2 separate regions of the Homo sapiens genome follow, and region 2 is linked to region 1. The links are contacts of gene promoters, found by promoter capture Hi-C in blood cells and fetal thymus (Javierre and others, 2016). All regions are on one chromosome and are shown on one strand. Each heading gives the region's core, a stretch centred on a gene start or on the middle of the fragment in contact. The rest is flanking DNA. Distances are from core to core; before and after follow the strand shown. Region 1 holds the start of ING3 (inhibitor of growth family member 3). Region 2 holds the start of PNPLA8 (patatin like domain 8, phospholipase A2).

Region 1 (4,574 bases), core at 1,544-4,043:
CAATCCATATGAGGGGCACTCCCTGGAAATGCAGTATTGGTTTTAAGTAGGCAGCCACTCAAAAATGGTATCTACTGTATGACCTAATTATGTAAGAAGTTATCACAAGCCTATGCAAACATAATTGTTGCAGCTCAGCTGATACATGTTCCAACAATAAGAGTTACATTATTTAACTAAAATATACAGTGTGTAAGTTTTATTTTTGGTTTCTGTGGAGTGTGTATTTATACTGACTGAATTGGGAATGATTTATTATCTCATTTCCCTTAATATGGAACACTCCCTGAGGAAGCTCAGTTTACACTGAAATGATGTACTTCTATTCATGATAGCATACCATTTTAGCTACTCTGAAAGAGCCACCTGGCAAAAACAACTAAAAGTGCTAGATTTAAAAAAATACACTGATGAACTAGTAGGAAATTAAGGAATTTTCAGAACGAATATAAAAGGGGAAAAAGAAGGAAAATGAAAATATCCTGAGAAATAAGTGCAAGCCAAAGTAGGCTTTTGTTCAGAGACTATCTGTCAAGTTCTGGACACCTAGAGCTCTTACTTTAATAGCTGTGCAGCATGCCAGGGTCAGAAGATAAACCCAAGTATCAGTTTAAAAGGAAGAGTCTTACAGCAGACAAAAATCTGGGGCCCCAATGGACTATACTCTCCATGTAAGGGTAAATGACATATAAGCCTCATGCACAGAATAGGCCAGTAATGAAACATGTCTGTCTTGGCCTTGGAGCCCAGTAAAGAAAGAAAAAAAAATTCTCCTCTGAGAATCTGTAACAATCCATTTGGGATAGAGGCCCAAATTCAATCTATCTGTGCAATACAATAAACCTCAAGGGGACAATTTAATCTGGTCCTAGGGGTTTATGATGTCTCCAAACAAACTGACAAGCAAATTCTAATGCTCTCCATGAAAACTCAATTTCAACTCCAGCTCAAAGAATCCTTATGCTTGTAATCCCAGAAACAGGAATTCAGAGTCCAAAATCGCAACCCAACAGGAAAAAGCCACCATGAGTAAAAGTGCCCATTTCTGAAGAAATAGCACTAAAAGGCCCATAAATGTTTCAATATTAGGTTTAACAGAAACAAGATACAGACTAAATAATTTGTATAAGAAATTATAAGATGTCTTGAAAAGAGAACCGAATAGAACTTCCAAACCTGAAAAATTATGAAAATTCTAAAATAAAACATATAAAAGAAAGATTAAGATAAATAAGAGAATAAAGAGAGAAAGTCTTAATGGAAAAAATGAGAAATAAGCAATACTGAAAAGACAAACGCTGAGAATTTTCTAGAATTGTTGCAGGGCACCAATCCTGAAATTCAGGAATCCCCTCAAATCCTAAGCATAATTTTAAAATTTTAAGGAAAGAAAAGGGAATAAGGAAGGAATTCAGACTTAGATCACTACAAAACTGCAAAAAGATGTCAAAGAGATGTTAAAAGCAGCCAGAAGAAGGAAGGATGGGAAACGAAGAAAGGAGGAAAAAAAGAAGGGAGAAAAAGATCGAAAGTACTTGATTTTCGATGGAAGTAATGAAAAACTTAACTAGAAACTATAAAATTCTAATTCTTATTAGGATCGAAGTAAGGTTCCGTTGAGATTCATCATGATTCATCATTCACGACAGGAAAGTTTCCTGCTTAAGAGCAGTGAAAACCTTGAGTACAAGAGTATGTAATGGAGAAGGAAAGCAAGAAACACACACACACAGTTTCAACTGCAATTTGAAAAACAGAAAATGAACAATAAATTATGAACTAATGACAATTTCCCCAGAAAATCGAAAAGTTAAGAAGAGTGGAAAATAACAATATCTAGCATTTATTGAGTGCAAGAGTTTTTAATAAAAAACAATTTAAAAAGAAACTGAGTAGGGACGTACTAAATATATCACAGGAAAACATTTGCTGGGAGAGGTCGAAAAGTAGAAACTAAAGAACGCCGAAGACAACCAACCTCGAATATGGACTATTTACTCAACATAAAGTTACTGCTATTAACAGCCTATTAGAAATCAAGGCTGCATCCGTAATTCATGGCTGCTCACTGTGATGATGAAGATTATTATTATTATTATTTGCGGATGCAGATTGTATGTATAGATCAATTACATTAGAATGACGATTAGATGGACCGCAAACTAGAATATATAAGTGGCTACTGACACTATTTGTGCATCTTTTAATCTGGGAAATGTATATTCACTCCATAGTCTCAGTATAAACTATTTTAAAATTACACGTAAGCCAACCAGGTGTCTCTTTTATATTTTAGAGTGAATAATGAGGATAAATTCCAGTAGAGAGTTCTATTTTAAGCAATCCAAATTCCCCGAACTTTGCTGATTATTCTAGTGTTTAGAACCTTTGCTATTTGCCTGGCACTTCTTGAAACCCATAACTCACAAACGCCGGGGCATGGAATCACATCAAAGAACAGGTGAAAAGTTGTTCCTAGTTGTGTTATGCAGGTGCATACAACTCCCGCCATTCTCTGTGCAAAAATCAACAAATAAACAGAGGCACCGCATTTCGGATTCTGTTACGCACTGTTTGCAATGGCGCCCGGTATTCGTAGTTTCTGCGAGGGGAGCCGCCAGCGCGCCAACCCTCGCTGAGGAGGAAGAAAACTACATTTCCCACAGAGGCACGGGGGCGAACACCGGCCGGGCTACGTCATTGCTTGAACCAACCAATAGCAGCTCCGGGCGGCAGTGAGGCAAGCGCCTCAGGCGCCAAAGTGGTTTTTTTTTTTTTCTTTTTTTTTTTTTGCCGGAGTCGAGCGGGTGCTGCTAGCGGAGGCGCCATATTGGAGGGGACAAAACTCCGGCGACAGCGAGTGACACAAATAAACCCCTGGACCCCCTTGTTCCCTCAGCTCTAAGGGCCGCGATGTTGTACCTAGAAGACTATCTGGAAAGTGAGTGCGCGGCGCTGGCGGCGGCCGCCAGTGGGACGTGCGGGCGGGCAAGAGCGCGAGTGGACGGGCAGCGAGATGGCGGGAGGGAGGGGGCGGCGGGGGATGTTTCTTTCTCACGGTAACTGGCAGCCTCGTTGTGGGCTGCCGGCCCCCTCGACCCCCCTGACGCACGCGCGCAGTGACGTAAGCGCGTATTTCGCCGTTGGCCCCGCCCCTCTGACGGACTCTCCCTTTGACAGTGATTGAGCAGCTTCCTATGGATCTGCGGGACCGCTTCACGGAAATGCGCGAGATGGACCTGCAGGTGCAGAGTAAGTCGGCGCGTCTACTACTCCTGTTCGCTGCGCGCGTTCAGTGCCAGACTTGCTTGTCATCACTGCTAGCGCCTAGTGCTCTTTCACTGTCCTCTGGCTCACTCCGCTAGTGCATAAGGAGTTGTCAAAAAGAACTGGCAGCCCTGAATCTCGCCTTCCCCTTCCCTCCCATGCTACTTTTTTCTGGCTTTTGCAAGAGCAGGAGGCATTGGGACACGTGTATTCCTTTCTAGAATGTGGGATTGTGCAAAAAATATTTCTCTACCGTCATTGACATAGTTATCTATGTTTCAATGGACGTCAGCATAATAAATGTTGAGATGTCGTCTTGAGCCTTTTCGTATCGAACTTAGATTTCAGCATTTATACTTATTTTAAAGTTCATCCTATTCACAGTTTTTCAAGAGTGGAAAGCACAGAAGCAGAGGTTATATATAGCTCTTTAGAGACCATGGCAAATGTCAAATTTTGAAAACTTAGTTACACATTAGATACATTTTAAATTGTAACAGAATCGTCATTTTCTTGGTTAAAATGAGTGACAGAAATTAGATTTCACTGTAAAGTTTCTTATGTGCTGTACTAAAAATTTTAGCAGTTAATGAACATTTCTTTTTCTTTCAGTGATAGCTTGGTAGTCTCTAGGACTTTTTCCCCAAATTAACTTTGCTCTTTCATAGAGCAACGACTATAAATAGGTGGCTCAGGGACCACCTGCTGCAGCTAAGAACCTGTCCTTTTCACTGCTCCTGGCTTCTCTGCCCATGACCACACACCCACTTCTATACCCTTTGCTTATGAGTATATTTTTCCGGTAAGTTTCAGGTGGCACATAATAAAAAGTGGTGGCATGGAAGCCACTTTCTGTTCAGTGGATTGTGATATGAAGTATGAATTGTGTGTGTGGTTCTCCAGCTATCTCACAAATTCATTTTAATTTTAGTGTAGTTGAAATGCTGAAGATTTGCTGAAGTAGTGTTCTCTGCAGGACTGAGCACAGACATTGATGTCAGATCTGAGTTTGTTTTAGGGCTTTACTAATTTACTCATTGACTCTGACTGTATTATCACTTGTGAGGGGCTTACATTGTCTATAAAAAGAGAATCATCCAAGGATTTAAAATGTTACACATGGATTAGAATTTCTAGTATCTGATACAAAGTAGGCATTAAATAAAGGGTAACTTACTTTAAATTATTTTTATATTTTATTGTTTAAAATTTTAAATTCTCTTGTAATTTGGGCTTACATTATACATATTACAGGCTTTTTAAACGTGCATTTCTTTACAGTAACTAGAATTTTCTAAAGTTAATAG
Region 2 (4,886 bases), core at 1,232-3,731, about 12 Mb before region 1:
AACAAAACGGAGAGGCTGGGACCAAACACTTAGAGAAGGGAATGGAGTTTTAACTAGAGGAATTAAGGGAATTGTTAGATGGAGACCCAGCTAAGGATGGAAAGAATGAATTTACAGAGTATGTCACTTAATTATTAATATAACAGTCAAAAGGGTGACAACAGTCTGAAGGTAACAGTACTGAGGAGAGCAAAGATCACCTGGTGGCCATCGAGCAGACCATCCAGAGGGAAAGCTCCTTATCTGAGGAATTCAGAAACAATTAGACTTCTCTATTAGCTAAAGCCGGCATCTGGTACCAGGATTCTTTCCCAGAAATTTATAAGTAACTAGAATCTCTATACATGTCCAGAATGTATGCATGTCGAAACTCACTGTGCAACTTTTGCTGATATCAAAGCACCAAAATGTCTATAAATGTAATCACTGATCATGACCTACGTGGCTAATATGGTCCAAGTTACCCTTCAGCTTCTGCTTTAAGGTCCATAAATACCCCTAAGAAAAAATCCACTGCGGTGAGCTGTCCTCTCTTGCTGAGGCGCCTGGCTGCACTCTTCTGCAGCACTCTTTCTATCCAATAAAACTTTCCTTTTCAAACCTACGGTGTTGTCGGTAAATTTTTCTTACTACCCTACTACCCCAAGCTGACCACTTTCTGATGCTGGGGCTCTGACACCTCACCCAGCAAGTACTAGTGTGGGGAAGAGGGCCACTCTGAACACTTTGAAAGTAAGGGAAAAAAGAGAAAACAACAAAACACAGGACTTGACAGCCAAGAATGGGGTAAAGAGAGGGAAGTGTTAAGAGAGCTCTAAGGTTTTAAATCTGAAAAATACGGAGAGTGCCATTTGCGAATATGAGAAAACTGTGAAGGGGACAATTTAATAGGAGAGAAAAACACATTTTCTTTTGGATTCACAGGATGAAGTAACAGTGGGACATTCAAATGGAAATGTACACAGACTGTGGATTTACTTGTGGAATTACCAGCATAGTGGCAGCAGAAACCACAACATTAGACGTATTTACCAGATGATAGTTTACAGTAATAATACATGACTATTTTGGGATCAGGCAACCTGAGTAAAGCTTTTCTTCCTTGAAAAATGTGTATTTGCAATACAAACTATATTTTCCATAATATTTCAGGATATTCACATGCCCACTGAAGTATATTTGGGTTTCAAACACGAAACTCTGGTTTAGGGAGAGCGACAGGGGTAGAGCCTTGAGTGCCACCCAGAGCTAGGAAGAGGAAGAAAAGACTCTAAAGGAAACAAAACAGGAGAAAAGCCACCCTGAAAAAATCAGGACACTGAAAACCAAGACAGGACCAAATTTTTTCAAGTAATGGATAATGAACAGAATAAAATACTTGAGTACTGCAGAGAAAGATAAGAACTAAGAAATGACTGGCCAGGTGCGGTGGCTCAGGCCTGAAATCCCAGCACTTTGGGAGGCCGAGGCGGGCGGATCACCTGAGGCCAGGAGTTTGAGAGCAGCCTGGCCAACATGGGGAAACCCGTCTCTACTTAAAAAAATTAGCCGGGTGTGGTTGCGCACGCCTGTAAATCCCAGCTACTCGGGAGGCTGAAGCAAGAGAATCGTTTGAACCTTGCAGTGAGTCGAGATCGCACCAAGGCACTCCAGCCTGGGCGACAGAGAGAGACTCCCAACAACAACAAAAAATGGCAGGACAGGAAGGTGTCTATGGCTCAGCATTCTAACTCTGACCTTTTTACAAATATATATTCCATGAGTGAAGCAATATGCAGCTTCAGCACAACCCCTCTAACTGGGGTAAAAAAAAACAACTCAAAGTACAGGCTGTTCTTGTAACAACTTTGCATGTGAAACAAGTGAATAGCTAAACTAGTGAAACTGGCCCTTTCATTCAACATCACTCATTAAAAGGGCGTTTACAAGATTTTAATTTAGTCCTGATATAGAAATAAAAAAAGAGATCAACATTAAGAAAAAGTTGATTATAATTACGAAATAAAAACATGTTCTTATATTGAAAGGACAACTAATTTGCATAAGCAATTTAACAAAATAGCTAAAATGGGCTTGATACAACTGCCTCACAAGGCATAAGCTCTTAATGTTTCACTGTTTAACAGCATTTTCTTAATACACTGAAACATTTGTCATTTTTGAACTCTCAGAAATTAGGACTGCAGAACCAGGATACAACTGTTTTGGAATTGAAAACAGTATTTTAAGCAGGATTATATGATAGTCCCTTATGTCACAACTCTCCTGAGTTTTTCCTATGAGTCACCATTTTAAAGTTATCATTGTATTAGGCGTGGAAAGCAGGTTCCTTCCAGCACAATGATAGAAATGACACAGGGATAGGAAGCACTGCAACACAGTGATTCATACACCTTATCCACTTAAGCAACAGCGGTCAAGGATAGAATCAAATGTGGATGGGGTCAGAAAGAGATTACTGACAAAAAATATCAGGCAGTAGAATCACCAGGTGCACACTGACAGTCGAGAATGATGTAGACTAGGGAAACCCTCCTGAGAGTGACCAGTTAACTACTGGAGAACACTACAGTCCAGGGGAAGGCAGACAGACTCTGGAAAATTGAGGAGGGAGTCGTGGGGATGGGACAGGGGGAGCAGGGCGGGACCTGCGAAACCAAATACGGTTTGCGCTTCTGGGGCAGCAAAGCCCACGGGGGCGGAGGGCGCCGAGTACCAATGAGCTCCAGGACCTGCGGGCTCCTTCCAGCGCCAGCTCCTCCCCAAAGCCTGGCGTGTCCCCACCCTCTCGCTCGGGAAGTGCCCTCCAAAGAAAGAAAGGACGACCCGGAGCGCCGGACAAGGGTCCAGAACGATCAACCAGCCTCCTATCGTCCCGCCCCTGTCCCCTCGCGGCTACTTACCGGGATGCAGGCCGCAGTCACTAGGGCTGCAGCGGCGACTCGCTCGTTCCCGGCAATGACGTCCACTCCAACCGGCCTGCATCAGCTGAGCTTCCAACACAAACACTGGCGCAGCAGCTAGGTCGCCACCCACTCAGCCCCGCCCCGCTCCGCCCCCAGCGGAAGTGACGCGCTAGAAGTTTGGGTCTACCCGCGGGCCGGGGTGAGGATTTTCCGCCTCGCTCAGGCCTCTGCCTCCTTGTCAATCTCCGTTCCTCCCCCGCCCCGAGATATGCGCAATAGAGCATGACGGAGCGCAAGGCGGGAAGCCGCGACAGACGTGTGTGCGTGCGTGCGTGCGTGCGTGATGCGCGAGGCGTGGCTTGCTGGTGGGGCGTGCTGTGCCTTGGTTGGTTGCCGGGTGTGAGAGCGGTGGGACTTCGTTTTGCCTTCCTGGGCGGGACCTCGGAGCAGTGTCCTGGTTTGCTTGTTTGCGGGCCGCTATTCCCTTTCAGCAGAGATAAGCCTCCCTCTCCGCGTCCCTGAAGCCCCTGCCTGCGCTGAGTTCCTTGGAGCTGGGGGCTGCGATACCAGTCTCTTGGAGGGTGGTGCCCGGCGCGGCCGCGCCCCTTTCTCTATATCCATTCCTGGGCATGGCCACCCAGACTAAATGTCACTCAAAAGCGAGTTGACATATATTACTGTATTGGAAGTTAGCATAAACCGCCCCACAAATGGTCCCACACGTAACACATCTTTTTAAAATTGTGGCATTTCATACGTACCACAGGGGCAAACTACAGCCCTCAGGGCAAATCCAGCCCACCGCAGGTTCTGCTGTACTAGGAGCTAAAAATGGGTTTCACATTTTTCAAAGGTTAAAAAAAAAGTTTTGCGACAGATGACAATTATATGACATTCATATTTGTGTCTGCTTTTTAAAGTTTCATTAGAACATAGCTTTGCATTCCTATACATGCTGTTAATTAAAGCTTTTATACTACAATAGCGAATTTGGGTAGTTGCAATAGCCCCTTACCCTCTTGAAGTGACCTTGCAATTACGTTGAGGTCGGGAAAACAGATCAGTTTCAACTAGTTATCAACCTCAAAATGTTATCAAGACTTATACTGTACTCTCAAGGCTTACCCACTACCCATGGGTATGTATGCTTTAGCCCCCTGTAAGGTTATTGTAAAGTCCTTAAGGAAGGGGATTCTTTGACCTGTCAAATGTAGTGGATGTTACCCTGATAGTTGTGTTGTTTTGATTTTTTTAAATCAAGGAGGGAAAGCCAGCTTGCTATGTTCTTGGGACACAGTGTCTGGATTATGTACATCATAATGCCTGGTAAACCCCAGCAGTGGATAAGCCAGACATGTTATTTAGCTACAGGAGAGTTAAAAGATGTATGCACCAATTAAGCCTTACAGGCGTGTGGAAGGAGCTTTAGTTTTTGAGACAGATTCCTCCTTGTTGCTAAAGAAAAATTATTCTGACACTTGTTAAAATGTCAAGGAAGACATTTAGAACTATTGCAATAGGTGCCATGACTATCACCATGGGGGAGAGAGATTGGCCTCAAGTTTTAATACAACAAAAACAGCTAGGATTTATAACCAGCAAGCAGACTGAGGGGTCAGTTCATGGAAAATTACTAAGAAGTGATATCAAGGGTCGGGGATATTCTTGTTAAAGTGACTTACAAGATTCTTGCTGAAGACAGGCGGAGATGATCAATTATCAAGGCTAGGAGATACTCTCTAAACTGACTTTGCAAGATTCTTGCTAAAACTGGACTCAGCAGGCCTAAGACAGGGGCCCAAGGATGAGGCCTAGTTGGGAAGAGGGCTCAGAGGAGCCTAACTAAAGTATGGTCAAGGAGAGAGCACCACCATTCCCTCTCCGCTTATGCTCTTTCATCCCCTAATTTAGTCAGATGTTATTAAATATCCAGATTTTCCTCCCATGTCAGAAATTTTCAAATAACGCCCAATTCCTGCT

What was found. The method cuts DNA at HindIII sites, captures the fragments that hold promoters and counts their contacts. A CHiCAGO score of 5 or more calls a contact.
Region 2: a contact is called between a fragment that was not itself captured here and the fragment with the promoter of ING3 in region 1, in 2 of 17 cell types (neutrophils and total CD4 T cells). The highest score is 8.1, in neutrophils.

What each region holds. Positions count from the first base shown.
Region 1 is chr7:120,947,984-120,952,557 of GRCh38, forward strand. ING3 (inhibitor of growth family member 3) reads left to right here and starts at 2,794. Exons shown (of 12, transcript NM_019071.3): 1 at 2,794-2,941; 2 at 3,181-3,252. The coding sequence starts at 2,914. RefSeq lists an enhancer at 3,337-3,416. The HindIII fragment of the contact is 9,487 bases long and covers 1-4,574 here.
Region 2 is chr7:108,523,126-108,528,011 of GRCh38, forward strand. PNPLA8 (patatin like domain 8, phospholipase A2) reads right to left here and starts at 3,010. Exons shown (of 11, transcript NM_001256007.3): 1 at 2,904-3,010. It overlaps LOC124901722 (a long non-coding RNA gene), which reads left to right and starts at 3,350. Exons shown (of 2, transcript XR_007060473.1): 1 at 3,350-4,520. RefSeq lists enhancers at 932-1,467, 2,147-3,107, 2,879-2,998, 3,289-3,628. The HindIII fragment of the contact is 2,782 bases long and covers 1,091-3,872 here.